Regions from separate parts of the Homo sapiens genome. Here regions 2 and 3 are each linked to region 1. The links are contacts of gene promoters, found by promoter capture Hi-C in blood cells and fetal thymus (Javierre and others, 2016). All regions are on one chromosome and are shown on one strand. Each heading gives the region's core, a stretch centred on a gene start or on the middle of the fragment in contact. The rest is flanking DNA. Distances are from core to core; before and after follow the strand shown. Region 1 overlaps RBBP8NL (RBBP8 N-terminal like). Region 2 holds the start of NTSR1 (neurotensin receptor 1). Region 3 holds the start of NTSR1-AS1 (NTSR1 antisense RNA 1).

Region 1 (4,824 bases), core at 864-3,363:
GGAACCTTCCAGCATCTGCGTGTGGGAGCCGCTTCCGGGCAGAGGGGGCTGCTGTGGCTGTGTGTGTTTCCGTGTACCTGCAACTGCATGTGTAGCTGTGTCTCTATGTCTGCACAGCTTTGTTGTCAGCATGTGTCTGCGTATACCCATGTCTATGTGTCTCTGTGTGTTGTGTGTGGGCATCCCTGTCTGTGTACATATGTGTTGTATGTGTGTAACTCTGGGTGTGTGCCTGTGTGTTGTGTGTATACATGCTGTGTGGTGTGTCTGTCTTTGTGCATGTGTGTTATGTGTGTACATGCTCTGTGTGTGTCTTTTGCATATATGTGCATGTGTGTTGTGTGCACATGCTATCTGTGTGTGTGTGTGTGTGTGTGTGTGTGTGTGTGTGTGTGTGTGCCTGTGGGACAGGATTGAAGCTGCCACGGCATTGGAGGGGGACAGAGATCCCAGGAGGGAACTGAGTACAGGGCTCTGGTGAGAGGGAAGGAGGTGCTGTGACAGTGGTGTTGGGGCCGGGGTGTGGACAGTGGCATGGTAGGGTCTGTGGGGCTCTTACTGGTGAGGTCTGACTCCCAGCTTCACAGCTGGGCAGGTGCCACCAGCACCATCCAGCTCTTGCCAGGCTTCCCTGTCCCTCCATTGAGGTGCCAGGGGAAGGGCTTATGTGGGGACAGGCCAGGCACTGATGGGCTGGATACCTGGGGAGAACGGGGTGGCTCAGAGGTGCCGGCACTCACCCCAGATGCTCCCTGGCCCCTCCAGCCCCTCCCGCACGGCAGCCAGCACCCTGCCCTCTGGCCCCCGGCCACATACGTGTGGGAGGAAGCCACACAATGTACTATCTCTGTGCCTGCCCGTGGGGTTCGGGAGCCTCCAGGCCACCTCCCATGAGTAGCCCCTACAGCATGGCATGGGGTCTGCTCCATACAGACACAAGGAGCCCCAATCCTCTCCTGGACTCCACAGCCCACAAGCCCTTCCTGAGCGGATCCCTGTCCCCTCTTCCTCCTCTTCAGGATGGACACAGAGGGGCAGTAGAGGCTGCAGGCGTCTCCACAACCCCAGCGCAGAGGGGCCCGGGCCAGGGCCACAGGGAGCCATGGAGAGCTTCATGGAGTCGCTGAACAGGCTGAAGGAGATCCACGAGAAGGAAGTCCTGGGTGAGGGGCCAGGGACAGATGCCAGGCTAGGGAGGGGTCTCCACAGCCCTCACCTAAGGGTCGGAGCAGGCCACTGTGCACCCATGATCACCTCCAATTCCCACCAAGTCAGGGAATGGACCCCGTCTTTTTGGCCCAGGCAGGGGAGTCCTGACCCAAGGCCCAGAGCTACAACGTGGCAGACACCCTGCCTGGGCCCGAGTGCTGACCTCAAGCGGGGATGTCCTCGAGCCACTCCCAGAGTGTGACCCCGAGGGGGAGGGGCACTTTCAAGGGTTGCCACCAACACCTCATGGCCACCTGCCACCCGCAGGCCCCATGCTGCCCATGCTTTGTTCTCCCGTGGGCCGGCCTCCAGCGTGGCAGAAAGAAGTACCCACCCTGGCCGGCCTGCTGAGCTCACCAGGGCAGAGACAGCCACTTCCAGAAACAGGAGCTTATGGCTCTCTGGACCCATCCAGAACATGTCAAGGCACTGAGCTGCAACTCTTCTCTTCCTTCTAGGACACGCCCCAGGCCCCACCCCTGTCCACTTCCCCCACGAGGGACAGGGCCGCAGCCCCCACACCACCCCCAGTCCAGTCCCAGGGCCAGCACCTCCCCGTGGTCTTTCCACTGAGCACCCACACCCACCTGGAGGTCCAAGGACCCGGCTGCCTCCTAGGCAACCCAGAGAGGTGGGGCTGCTGGGGCTAGCCAGGCCCAGGTTGGATCCCCAAGATACGGCAAGGAGAGGGTCTGGTGGGGTCCGCCCCAGAAGCTTATCTTATTTCAACACTAGCTATGACACACACACACACACAAAATGGCCCCTCGGTCCCTCTACCTTTCACAGGTGGCTGGTCACTTGTGGCACCAGGGTCCCTGCTCACCCCCAGACACCCCCAGACAGATGCCGGAGGCAGAGACCCCAGGGGAAGCAACAGATGCTAGGCCGAGACCACCGAGCCTCAGGCAGCCCCGTGCCTGGGCACAGACAGGGGCTCACCTGGCAGGGCTCCCCCAGGGGGTGCAGGGGACAGGAGTGCCACATTGCAGCTCTGCCCAGACCCCGTGGTGGGGACACTGAAGGTGAAGCAGCAGCTGGGCCTGACCCCCCGCCCCTCTGCTTGCTCCCCCAGGCCTGCAGAACAAGCTTCTGGAACTGAACTCAGAGAGGTGCCGGTGAGTCAGGCCAAGCAGGGCCCCTCCTCACAGGGACCACACTGGCCACTTCATCCCCCTGAAGCCCCAGTGTGCCAGCACTACCACCGTCCTATGGTGCAGAAGGGAAACTGAGGCTCAGTGTGGGGGCGGGGGGAGTCACTTGTCCAAGGTCACACGGTGAGCAGGCAGCGAAGCCAGCACTTGAACCCAGTTGCGTCGGCCTCCCAGGGGCGGGGCAAGCCCCCTACTCGGGGCTTCTCCCACCCCAGGATCATGATCAGAATATCAACAATACGTTCACGGTGAGCTGGGGTCATGTCTGGTCAGACACTGGCGGGCGGGCAGGCTCCCTGCGTTCTGGCTTATAGACCCGGCTATGGTCCTGCCTGTGCTGTGGCACTAAAGTGGTGCGTGGACAGGACAGACGTCACAGAGGAGCGTGCAGATGACAGGGGGGGCGGTGTGTGGACAGGACAGACGTCACAGAGGAGCGTGCAGATGACTGGGGGGGCGTTGCGTGGACAGGACAGACGTCACAGAGGAGCGTGCAGATGACTGGGGGGGCGTTGCGTGGACAGGACAGACGTGACAGAGGAGCGTGCAGATGACTGGGGGGGCGTTGCGTGGACAGGACAGACGTCACAGAGGAGCGTGCAGATGACCGGGGGGGTGGTGTGTGGACAGGACAGACGTCACAGAGGAGCGTGCAGATGACTGGGGGGGCGTTGCGTGGACAGGACAGACATCACAGAGGAGCGTGCAGATGACTGGGGGGGGTGCGTGGACGGGACAGACGTCACAGAGGAGCGTGCAGATGACTGGGGGGGGTGGTGCGTGGACGGAACAGACGTCACAGAGGAGCGTGCAGATGACTGGGGGGGCGTTGCGTGGACGGGACAGACGTCACAGAGGAGCGTGCAGATGACTGGGGGGGCTGCGTGGACGGGACAGACGTCACAGAGGAGCGTGCAGATGACTGGGAGGGGGGCACCGGGTTAGGCGTTGCCCCCAGACCAAGGCTGCAGGTGCCGAATCGCGCTGCCCCCCCAGGCTGGATGGTGGGGACAGCGTGTGGCTTCCTGGATGGAACAGGACCCCACTTTAGCTGTTTCCCACCACAGGGACGCCCAGAGGATCGAGGAGCTCTTCTCCAAGAACCACCAGCTCCGGGAACAGCAGAAGACACTGAAGGAGAACCTGCGGGTGCTGGAGAACAGGTGGGCCTGGGAGGACACCTCGCAGCATGGCCAGGACCGGTGGGCTCAGGAGAGGAGGAGGTGACAGGGCTCCTCGGAGAATGAGTTTGGGAAACTCCAGGATAAACTGAACCAGGAAGGTTTCCCCACTGCAGGACATCTCAGAGCCTTAAGGAAATTGCATTTTCAAGATTTCTCCCCAAACTCAGTGGAACATGGGACACCTAGCCCACGGGGTGGGAAGAGGCCTGGGGCTCTACGGAATAGTTTGCAAAGGGCAGGGGCACTTCCCAGCAGTGGGGCAGTGAGTGTCCCAGGCCCTCTGTGGCTTCCGTGCCATCCCTCACACCCCCTGCGTCCCCATCCCTGCAGGCTGCGGGCCGGCCTGTGCGACCGCTGCATGGTCACCCAGGAGCTGGCCAGGAAGCGGCAGCAGGAGTTCGAGAGCTCCCACCTGCAGAACCTGCAGCGCATCTTCATCCTCAGTGAGCCCCACCCACCAGACAACCGGGGTCCTCTCCCACGGGGCCAGGCGACCCCAGGCCTGTTCAGCCCATGTAGGGGCATGGGGAAAGGAGGCAGGACGATCGGCCCCACACCACTGGGGGAACCTCACAACCCAATCTACAGACAAACACACAAAGCCCCCAGCCGGCGCTGGTGTGGCCCTCCCTCAACACAGCCTCCCTCCCCTGGGCTGGGGGCATCCCGGCCCCCACTGGGCGCGGCCTCCTTCCTGAGATGCGGAAGGTCCTGCAGTGCTGAGGCCCCAGTGGCCCTCCTGATGACCAAGGGCAAGCCCCCTTCCCTCGAGGCCGGCACTGCTCATTCAACAGCATCCAATCAGCCATGCACGCAGCCAGCATCCACGGCGCCCCTGCTGCCTGCCAGGCCCTGGGCTACGTGCTGGGGGCACTGCTGAGGGGCTTCCCTGGTGCTGTGACGACCCCACCCCTGCCCCTGTCCCCCCCAACCCCTGGCTGCTTTGCTCATCAGTGCCTTTTGCAGCCAACGAGATGAACGGGCTGAAGGAAGAGAACGAGACCTTGAAGGAGGAGGTGAAGCGGCTTCGGGGCCTGGGGTGAGTGGGAAAGGGTCCCAGGGCTCAGACACCCAACTCCCCAGCACCCCCCGAGCAGCACCCAGCACACGTCCCTGGGGGAACCGCCCATGGAGGACTCTCAGGCAGTGTCGGGACAGCTGCGTCACCTGGGGTCACCCAGGAGTGGGCCCGGCTTTTCTGATCATCTCCCGAGATGCTGCTCTCCCTCACCCTCCCTGTCTCTGCCTCCCCTCTAGAGACAGGCCCAAGCCCCGGG
Region 2 (4,769 bases), core at 149-2,648, 290 kb before region 1:
TCCTTTGGAGACGCAGGTGCCAGCGCACATGTTTCCATTAGGCTTAAGGAATTCAGAGATGTCCGAGGCCCAGCCACCAACACCAGAGAGGTCACAGGCAGGGGCTCCATCCCCTCAACAGGAGGGAAGAAGATAGGGGCTGAGCCTGGCAACTCTGGAGCTGCCCCCAAGCTGCCCCAACCGCCTTCCCAGCCTCGCAGGAGTAGACTGTCTCTGTGACATCTCTCCCACTCCCTACCCAGAAGGCACACCACTGGCACTGCTTTTGGGGTGAAGGAGAGGGGAGCCCCGGGGCTGGTTACTGAGGCTCACCTGTATGACGACCTTGACGGTGGCAGTGTGGATGGTGGGGGTGCACACCAGGCCGCCGGCGTGCTGGCCGTCGGCGCTGCGGTTCTGCTCGCCCATGGTGAACAGCATAGGCACCGCCAGCAGGGCCGAGGCGAGCCAGATGGCGCTGATGAACTTCTTGGTGCGGCTTCGGGACATGAGGGTCTTGGCCTTGAAGGGGTGGCAGATGGCCAGGTAGCGCTCCACACTCAGGCTGGCCACGTTGAGGGCCGTGGCGTAGGTGCAGGCGTCGCGCAGGAAGTAGTAGCCGCGGCAGCCGGCGTCGCCGAAGGCCCAGGGGTGGTGCACCCAGATGAAGTTGTACAGCTCCACGGGCATGGCCAGCAGCAGGGTGAGCAGGTCGGACAGCGCCAGGCTGCCCAGGTGGTAATGCACCGTGCTCTGCAGGCTCTGCAGCGACTTCTTCCGCGCCAGCGTGAACGCCGTCACCGTGTTGCCCACCGTGCCCACCACGAAGAGCGCCAGGTACACGGCGGTCACCAGCACCTTGGAGTAGATGTCGGTGTTCACGTCCAGCTCGCTGCTGGGTGCCGCCAGGACGCGCTCCGACGCGTTGCCCGAAGCGTTGCCGAAGCCCGGGGCCAGCAGCGCCTCCTCCAGTCCGGCCTGCGCCCGCTGGAAGGGGTCGGCGGCCGGCGTGCCCGGGGTTCCCGGCGCGGAGCTGTTGAGGCGCATGGTGGGCGCTGGAGTCCGCGGCTCTGTCCGGCGCCTCCGGGGCTGGAAGTCCGGGCAGGAGTGGGCGCGTCTCAGGCGGGGACCGATGAACGGGAGCCCAGGGGAGGGCGCGTGGCGAAGACCAGCGGGCGCGCCGTCCAGTCGGGAAGCGCCAGACCCAGACGCGCCGCCCCGGGCTCCGGGCTCCGGGCTCCGCTCTCCTCCGGACTCCCAGCTTCCGGCTCCTAGCTCCAGAACCCGTGGTTCCTCGGGCTGTCTCCCGGCTCGGCGCTTGCCACGGGTTCCAGGTGCCTCCGATCTCCAAACCGCGCGGTTCCCCAGGCCCCCGAGGACAGCGCCCAGCCCGGCTCGGGCTGCGCGGGGCGAGCTTGTGGCGCCGGGAGGAGCGCACGCACTGCTGCCCGGGCGCGCTCCCCTCCCTCGCTCAGAATCTCCTCCCTCGCGCTCTCCGCGCACCCCAGCCCCGCACACCTCCCGCCGCGCCCGCGCCCTCCCGGCTCTGCGCGTCTCCACGGAGCCGGCGGCCGCGCGGCGCGCCCAGCAGTGGGGGGTGGCGGCGGAGGAGGGAGGCAGCCCCCGCCGCCATCCCCGCCCCGCCCGGGTGCAGCCTGGCGGGTCGCCCCCTCGCGCTCCCCGGGGCAGGGCGGGCTGGGGTGAGCGCTCCAGGGAACCAGGATTCCGAGCGGGCGCGGCGGGTATCGTGCACCAGACCCTTCCTGCCACCCTCTTCCCTGTTCTCCGCAATTTCTCGCACCGGCTAGGAAGGGAACTATGCACCTCCCCCAACCCTGGGCTCGCTCAGTTGGGGTGAGGGTGTATCCGGAGGGCAGGGAGGGAGGAAGCTCCCCGCTGGCAGGGCTGGGCGGCTGCGCAGCTGGTTGGGCCGACCCCCACTCCTGGGTGTCCACAGGGTGCCAGAAGCTGGGTGCCCAGGGGGCTCTAGGACCACTGGAGATTACATTTCTGGTGATTCCTTTTAAAATCTGGCCGCAGTCATGGGCGTGCCTGGTCTGTGAATGCGTATTTCTGGGATGTGCCCAGTGGAAATGGTGGGGGCTCAGGGCATAGTTATCACCTGGGGCAGGATGGCGTGAGGCAGTACCGAGGGACACCTGCAGGGGCTGAGGAGCTGAGGGGCTGGGTCCTGCAGAGGCCGGGAGCCACAGATGGTTTCATCAAAGTCTGGGGAGGGGTGAATGAGGGAGGGCAGAAAGCAGGTGCCCAGAGCAGCACCCTCCCCACTCAGGGCCCTGCATCTGGCACCCTGGGCTGGTCTCATGACGCTATGGGATGTGATGCCCTGGGCCCCTTATTACTGCCTGGATTTGTCATCAGAAGCCACCCTGAGAGCCTGCGCCCCAGCAGGATTTGGGAGAGGCAGCCCCAGCACGCATCCTCCCAGGCCCTGCAGGCTTTGCACACTCCCTCCCTCTGAGTGTCCTCACAGGGTGCCCCGGCCCCTGGCTCGGGAGCCAGGTGAGGGCAAGATTCCTGTCCTTTCCGTGTCCCCCCCAGCACCTGGTGGCACTGGCATAGGTGGCCAGGCACAAGCTTGCCCCCCCCTCCATGTCTGGGTTGCCCAGGGGCCCCCAGGGCACTACTGTCCCTTCTCTGGGCCCTCCCCGCCCCCTCCCCTGCTCCCTCCTCCCCAGAACCCCTGGGAGAGGTTGGGTAGAGCTGCTGCCCCATGTGTGCAGGGCTGGGAGGAGCTGCTCGAGTGCAGCCCAGGGAACCAGCCTGGCCTTTGTGCACATGGCTGGCTGCACCTGCTGTGCTGGGAGCAGGAAACCTGGGCAGGCTGGGGCGGGGGTCGCAGGGTGTTGAGGGAAGCGGGAGGCTGAGGAACCCCCTCCCGGGCCCGCCCAGCTAGGAGAATTCAAGGCTTCTGAGCCGGTGGCTGGCAGCGGGACTCTGTGATTATTCGTCCGTTCTCGCCCTGCTTTGGACTTCTCTGTTCAACCGGAGCCTGATACTCTTGTCAGGGGGCTGCAGCTCACAAACATCAGAGCTTAGAAATCTTGGCATCAAAGGAAACGCCAGTGATCCCTTTGCTGGAAGCCAGTAGATAGGATTGAATGTTGGCCCTGCTACTTCACATTTGGGCGAGTGTGCTTAGCGTCTCTGTGCCTCGATTGAGTCGTCTGTAAAATGGGAATAGCGGCTGAATGAAGGGCAGGGCTGTTACTGATGGGTCTCCACGGGGAATGAACGAGGTCGAATGGGCTGTCGGGTGTGAGGTGAGGTGTTCCATCCAACTAGAATAGGCTGGAGTAGGCCAGATTTGTCCTCTGGAAGACACGATTCACCAGTTAAGTACACAGGTTTTTTTATTTTTTTATTTTTTTTATTTGTTGAGATGGAGTCTCGCTCTGTCACCCAGGCTCGAGGGCAGTGGCGCGATCTTGGCTCACTGCAAGCTCCGCCTCCCAGGTTCTCGCCATTTTCCTGCCTCAGCCTCCCGAATAGCTGGGACTACAGGCGCTAATTTTTTTGTATTTTTAGTAGAGACAGGATTTCACCATGTTAGCCAGGATGGTCTCCATCTCCTGACTTCGTGATCCACCCGCCTTGGCCTCCCAAAGTGCTGGGATTGCTGGCGTGAGCCACTGCGCCCGGCCAAGTACAGAGGTTTGGGCGGGGACCTTAGCATCCACACCATGCCAGGGAGTACAGGTGCTGGACAGTGTGAGGTCCAGGCGCTCACCACTGTCTTGGTAACACTGGGGCCTGACCACGGGCTGGGCCATCAGGCGCCTCTGTCGAGACCCCCACAAAGAGGAAGTCCACAGCAATGGCCACTGGAGTCTGTCCCTCTGCCAGCCAAAGCAGGAGGATGCAGCGATTGTGCTCTCCCTCTGCCTAAGCTCATTGTTTGGTTTTTAAACCCCTGACCTTTTGGCTAAGCTGCCCTTATTTTCAAAGATTTATCTGTGAGTTGGCCTGGGAGCTTACAAAATCATAAAAGGCAACATAGTGCAAATATTGTGTTGGAGCATTTGCTTAAAACCACATAGGAAAATGTCACTTGGAAGGCCTTGTTCTACACAAGGCAGATGGCAGGCCTCCGGTGGGGACCCCTGGCAGCCACGCCGCTCGGCCGTTCTGAGCTCTTCTGTGCACTCACAAACCGGATGGCTCAGCGGCTGGAAGCTCTTAACTCCACGTTGTTTGCCCCTTTCTCTTCTGATTTCTGCAGACAGAAGCCCTTCCTAAACAGCTGAGACTCTTTAAAGAAAGTGCCGGTGAGGTGCTTGGGAAGGGACAGGCCAGGTCCGGTCATGCCCATTGGGGATGCAGCCACACCCTTGGCCAGCCGGATGCCTTCACTGACACGTGAAGTCGGGCACGCCTTGTGGGGGGCAGGGCTCCGGGGGCGAGTGTCTCCTGCAAGTTGGAGAGCCTTGGGGACCTGCTGCCCCGATCCCAACACTCCCAATGCTGCCTGTTGAGGAGCCGGCCGGTCCCATGGGCAGCGAGGACCGAGGTCCACGGGCACGGCTGTGATTCTAGGGTGCAGCAGGCGTGCTGAGCTGGGGCAGCCAGTGTGCTGGGGACAGCCTGGCTTTCTGTGATTTCCTGAGTGGTGTGAGCGAGGCATGTCCTTATTACCAAGCAAGGTAGTCATCTGTGCCTGGGGTGACAATCACGTCCAAAGAGTCACCACACAAGAGGTCCTTGGAAGCACGCTCCCAAGGGTGGGGGTCCCTGCTTGTTTCATTGGCTAGCTTACCCTGAGTCCCTCC
Region 3 (5,141 bases), core at 626-3,125, 320 kb before region 1:
CTGAGTGCTGATGAAACTTTACAACTCCAGGTGGGTCTGGGTTGGCCCCGTCCTCACGAACACGGGGCTGATCATCGCACCATCCATCCGGGAAAGACTGGGCCCAGGCCAAGTGTGTGAGTCCATTTTCGCACTGCTCTAAAGAACTGCCGAGACTGTGTAGTTTATAAAGGAAAGAGGTTGAATTGACTCACAGTTCTGCAGGGCTGGGGGAGCCTCAGGAGACCTACAATCATGGTGGAGGGAGAAGCAGGCACTTTCTTCACTGGGCAGCAGGACGGTGTGAGTGACAGCAGGGCAAACGCCAGACGCTTCTAAAACCATCAGATCTCATGAGATTCACTCTCACAAGAACTGCCTGGGGGAACCGCCCCCACGATCCAGTCACCTCCCCCTGGTCCTGCCCTTGACACGGGGCATTATGGGGATTACAATTCCCATGAGATTTTGGGTGGGGACACAGCCAAACACATCACGAAGTAACTCCTACGCCAGGTGTGTGCATGTGGCCTGGGCCCTGGTCACAGATGGAAAATGAAGCAGTAAAACAGAGGAGGGTCTCAGCTTGCGGGTCCTATGCTGAGGGTCCAGGTTGTTCCCTGGGAGCCACAGGCCAGGGCCTCGGAGTCCTCGGAGTCCTCGCTGGGAAAGGGGCTCTGCTGGAGGTTTGGGCCCGCCCTGCATAGCTGGGAGCCCTCTCTTTGCCCCACCCACAGGTGGAAGCCACTTCCCTCCTCTCCCAAACCCCCTCTCCTGGTTCCCCAGTTGGAGTGATCCACAGAGGAGATTCTGCGTCTAAACTGGGACTCAGGGAAGCTTCTGGAACTGTGAGAGGGGTTTGGTTCCTGCCTTTCTGAAGACAAAGTGGCGCCTGTCTTTCAGGGCATTGCGCCTGAGGGTACAGAGAGTGGGGCTCTGCCTCTGGGGTCCCAGGGTCTCCCCAGCTGCCAAGGGCAGCAGCCCCAGACCCAGACAGGGAAAGGAGCCTGGCTTCCCTTCCCGCCCTGCTCCATGGGGCAAGTGCAGAGAATCCCCAGCCACGATGCCCCTGCCCGAGGCACCCCAGGCTCCAGGCAGATCTCAGGCCTCCTAACCCAGGCCCTGCCCCGAAGGGACAAGTTTCAGAACAAACTGTCCACTGGGCTAATACCCCGGCTTTTGTGATCACCACATACTGATTTCTATCGAGGGATGAAAATTGACAAATTTAAACGGGAATTACTGGGCTCGGAAATTTGTTCTTTGTAATGAAGGGAACAGTTGAATACAGAATCTGAATTTGGGATTCAGACCAGACCCCCTCAGAGAAAGTGCTGAACCCGTGAGGAATTGGAGGGTAAGGGGAACTGTTCTTGGCAACTCCTGTCCCATTTCCTTTTGGGATGGGGGCTGCTCCCGCCCCCTGCACAGCCCCACAGGTCACAGCGGGGAAGACCCTGTCCCTGGTCCCCGGTCGCAGTGTGTGCCCTTTCCTACTTCCCTGCACGCCAGCCTCAGGAGGTGAGCTCACCTCGCCGTGTCGGGGGGACTCCCGTGTTACCCACCCCCCAAGCCAGGGAGCGGCCTCCAGGGGAGCATGGGGGAGGCTGAGGCCACCTTGCGGGGAGGCTGTTCCTGGGGCTGGGACGCCTCTCTCTGAATCATCCCCGCCCACAGAAGGAATTCATCTCACTCCTAATAATGTGTTTGTCACAAAGACATAATCGGCTCATCTGTGAGACTCCAGCGTGCACAGCGGTGCTGGCTCTTTGTTGTATAGTGGCAGTCTCACTGCAAGGCCGTTGGGCTTTGAGGAAAGGGAAGGAGGCACCCACTCTCTCCCCGGGGGGCCCCTGCCTTCCCTCGCAGTCCCACCTCTTCCGCCTGCCTCCATCACAGCAATTCAAATAACTATGAATGGGGCTACCTGGGAGCCCCACATCCCTGGCTGTGGGAACAGGCTGACCTTCCAGCACAGTGTCCTCCTGGTGCCAGGCACTGCCCCTCTGCCAAGGACCCTGCAGGCCTGGTAGGTCCCCAAGGGCACCCGTGGCCTCCCACCCCCTAACCATGGTTTTGGCACTGAGCTGGCGGCCAGGCGGGGCAGAGGAGGGAGCTGAGCGTCTTTCTTTAGTGTGCACGTCACCGCACACGATGGCACCCCACTGGTTGCTGCCCATCATGCAGGGCTGCCTCCACATGGGGCCTCAGCACCGGCTGGTGCCTGGCACCCCGCACGCGGCACCCCACCCCAAGGGGAGGCTGTACAGGCTCTGGACACACCCCAAAGCCACCCGAGGGCTGCTTCTCATCAGCAGGGAGGGGCTCGGGCAGCACAGTCCCGTGGAAATAGGATGCAGGCCACGTGAGGCTTAAATGTACCAGTAGCTATGTTACAAAAGTGGAAGGAAACAGCTATGATAATTTTAATACGATATCTTATTTAACTTAATGTATTCAAAATATCATATCAACTTGCAACGGTATTAGTGAGCTATTGTATACCGCCTTTCCGCATTAACTCTAAAACCCGGTGCGGATTTCAGGCTGAAGCTCATCTTCACTCAGACCAGCCATGTCTCAATGCCCAGTGGCCACGTGTGGCCCAGGGCTGCCACATTAGACAGGGCTGCCTGCAGCTTTTATGGGAAGCCACCTGGGCCAGGCACACCAGCGCCTGCTCCTCGCTCCCCAGGGGTGGTCTTGGCCCCAGCTCTGCTCAGCAGAGAACCCAGAGCCTCCAGGTCAGCCCCGGACACAGGGCGTGGGCATTGCACAAGGTCAAGAATGAGTTACTCATTTTCAACCACCTAAAAAGATGGCCCCAAAATGAAGCCTGGGTAAGACAAGGGGCCACGTCCTTCCAGGAGCAGAGCTCGGCTTCCTCTGCATCGGCCACAAAGCCCCTACTGCACCGAAGCCCAAGAGCTGAGCCAAGATTTTTTTTTTTTTTTGCGGGGAAGGGGGTCACACTCCAGAGAAGGCTCCAGAAAAGCTCTCATCCCAGACCTCGCTGCCTCCGCCCGCCCCTCACGCCCCATCTCTTGCCCGTCCCCCACCAGGGCTGAAGAGTGAACTCAGTAGTAACCCACGTGGCTGAGCCAGAGAAGGAGGCTGCGCAGGGGACAAGGCGGTCGCTTCCAGGATGAGAAGCGCAGACTCGAGGTCGGGCAAACCTGCCGCCGGCCCCAGCCGTGTGCATCTGAGCAAGTGGCTTCCCCCAGCCTCAGGCTCCTCATCTGTGAAACGAAACCCCCTCCAAGCTGGGCTGGCTCAGCACCCAAAACCATCATTTAAAATGCGACCCTGCCTGGGGGCTGTTCGAATCCTCTATTGAGATAAAGTAGCAATCATACATTCATCAGTCACTACTCCCTGCTGGAGGCCTCTTCCCCAGCACAGAGCCTTCCCTCTCTCAGCTGAGACCCCAGGCAAGGGTAGGGAGAAGAGGGTGCTGTCTCCCTCCCCCTCCTCCCCTCTCTCTCCTCTGTTCCTCCCTTTCTCTCTGTGTCTCTCTCTCCTTCTCTCCCTCTCTTTGTGTTTCTCCCTCTGTTTCTCTCTCTGCCTTTCCCTCTCTCCTCTCTTTCCTTTTCTCTCTCCCTCTCTCTTCTCTATCTCCCTCTTTTTCTCCATGTGTGTATCTCTCCTCCCCATCCCCAGAAGCCAGCCCACATGGCTCACCCTGCATTGCTAGGTGAGACAGGCCTGAGCCCTAAGCCAGGAGTCAGCCACAGCCGAGCTTTCCAGAACTTTCTAGAACCTTCCCTTTCCAAAGTGGAAATCTGGACTAGAAGGCACGATTCCCACTGGGGAGCTGCCAGTGGCTCCCTGCCCAAGGGAAACACAACTGTCCCGAGAGATGCTCATTTGCTCCCGGAAAGGAGCGCAGCAAGCTTCAACCAAGTGCTTCAGGAGGGAACCAAGAGCTTCATTCTTCCCTAATTGGTGCTAATTTTCAGCCTTCCCAGAGCTGTGCCTGGGAGGTGCAGAGGTGCCTCCAGGGTGGCCCTGCGGGGACCGGGATGCACATTTCTCTGTTAGGCTGGTAATCAGCTTGCATTTTCTCTGACAGATCTTCTTCCGAAAGAACGTCTACACACTGCCGATGACATTTACTTCACTCAGAATTTGCAAGTCCAATGCCGACATGAATATGCACGGCACTGCTGCTTGGATACGTGGCCTCAGGGCCACGCCTGCGGGTGATGTGACAAGTCCACAGACTCCCGTGGCGGCTTCTCACCGAGAAACATTCCAGCACCTGGAGGCTGCCAGCTGGGAACCCCCTTTAGGCGACGTCAGCGCCGTTGGTTCTCAGCCTGAGCCGCCCCCTGTGCCCGCTGTGGTCCTCCAGGCCCAGGCAGGGAGAGCCCGAGGAAAAGCAAGCGGAGGGTCAGATGGGGAACCAGCGTGCCTGGAGCCACGCAGGGACACGGACTTAGAATTCTACCTTGCATTTAAGGAACAGATGATAGATACTCTCTACAGTCTCTTCCAGGAAATAGAAGCAGAGGAACACTTTATAACTCACTCTACGAGGCCGGCATTACCCCAATAACAAAACCGAGGATGTTACAAGAAAGGAAAACGCAGACCAGGATGTCTCATGAACACAGATGCAAAAACCCTCAACAAAACAGCAGCAAATCCAGCATCACATACTAAGAATTATACACCACAGGATTTCCCAACCAGCACCACATACTAAGAATTACACAAATAGCAGCGAATCTCATGCAGCGCTACATGGTAAGAATTAGACAGCACAGGATTTATTCCAGGCATGCGAGGCTGCTCCAGGGTTCGGAAACAGATTATCGAAATCCATCATGGCAACAGGAACTATTTTCCAAAACCCAACACCCATCTGTGAGAAAAACCTTTCACAAGCCAGGAATACAAGGGAACTCCCTCAGCTTGGTAGAGAACATCTACTAAAAACCTACAGCCCATGTCATACTCAATGGTGACAAACCTGAAGCTTTTCTTCCTAAGATAGGGAAGGAGGCAGGGAGGCCCCCTATCCTCACTCCTATTTAACGTCATACTGTGAGTTCACAGGATGGACACTACCGATTTCAACACTTGCTATAAAGCCCCAGTTATCGGTACAGTGTAATTTTTTTTTTTTTTTTGAAATGGAGTCTCACTCTGTCGCCCAG

The links. The method cuts DNA at HindIII sites, captures the fragments that hold promoters and counts their contacts. A CHiCAGO score of 5 or more calls a contact.
Region 2: the fragment with the promoter of NTSR1 here is called in contact with a fragment that was not itself captured in region 1 in 1 of 17 cell types (M1 macrophages); the score reaches 7.0 in M1 macrophages.
Region 3: a contact is called between the fragment with the promoter of NTSR1-AS1 here and a fragment that was not itself captured in region 1, in 2 of 17 cell types (M1 macrophages and M0 macrophages). The highest score is 6.2, in M1 macrophages.

What each region holds. Positions count from the first base shown.
Region 1 is chr20:62,415,926-62,420,749 of GRCh38, reverse strand. It overlaps RBBP8NL (RBBP8 N-terminal like), which reads left to right. Exons shown (of 14, transcript NM_080833.3): 2 at 1,020-1,163; 3 at 2,285-2,327; 4 at 3,431-3,526; 5 at 3,878-3,990; 6 at 4,514-4,586; 7 at 4,805-4,824. The coding sequence starts at 1,103. Among named protein-coding and RNA genes, the nearest start is that of RBBP8NL, 9.2 kb to the left of the region's middle. The HindIII fragment of the contact is 375 bases long and covers 1,926-2,300 here.
Region 2 is chr20:62,705,465-62,710,233 of GRCh38, reverse strand. NTSR1 (neurotensin receptor 1) reads right to left here and starts at 1,398. Exons shown (of 4, transcript NM_002531.3): 1 at 313-1,398. The coding sequence starts at 1,026. RefSeq lists enhancers at 107-651, 652-1,198, 1,408-1,920, 1,921-2,434. The HindIII fragment of the contact is 3,349 bases long and covers 1-2,579 here.
Region 3 is chr20:62,732,093-62,737,233 of GRCh38, reverse strand. It overlaps NTSR1-AS1 (NTSR1 antisense RNA 1), which reads left to right and starts at 1,875. Exons shown (of 2, transcript NR_199009.1): 1 at 1,875-2,008; 2 at 4,052-5,141. The region is part of intron 1 of NTSR1 (neurotensin receptor 1); the gene reads right to left. RefSeq lists an enhancer at 1,606-2,451. The HindIII fragment of the contact is 3,056 bases long and covers 819-3,874 here.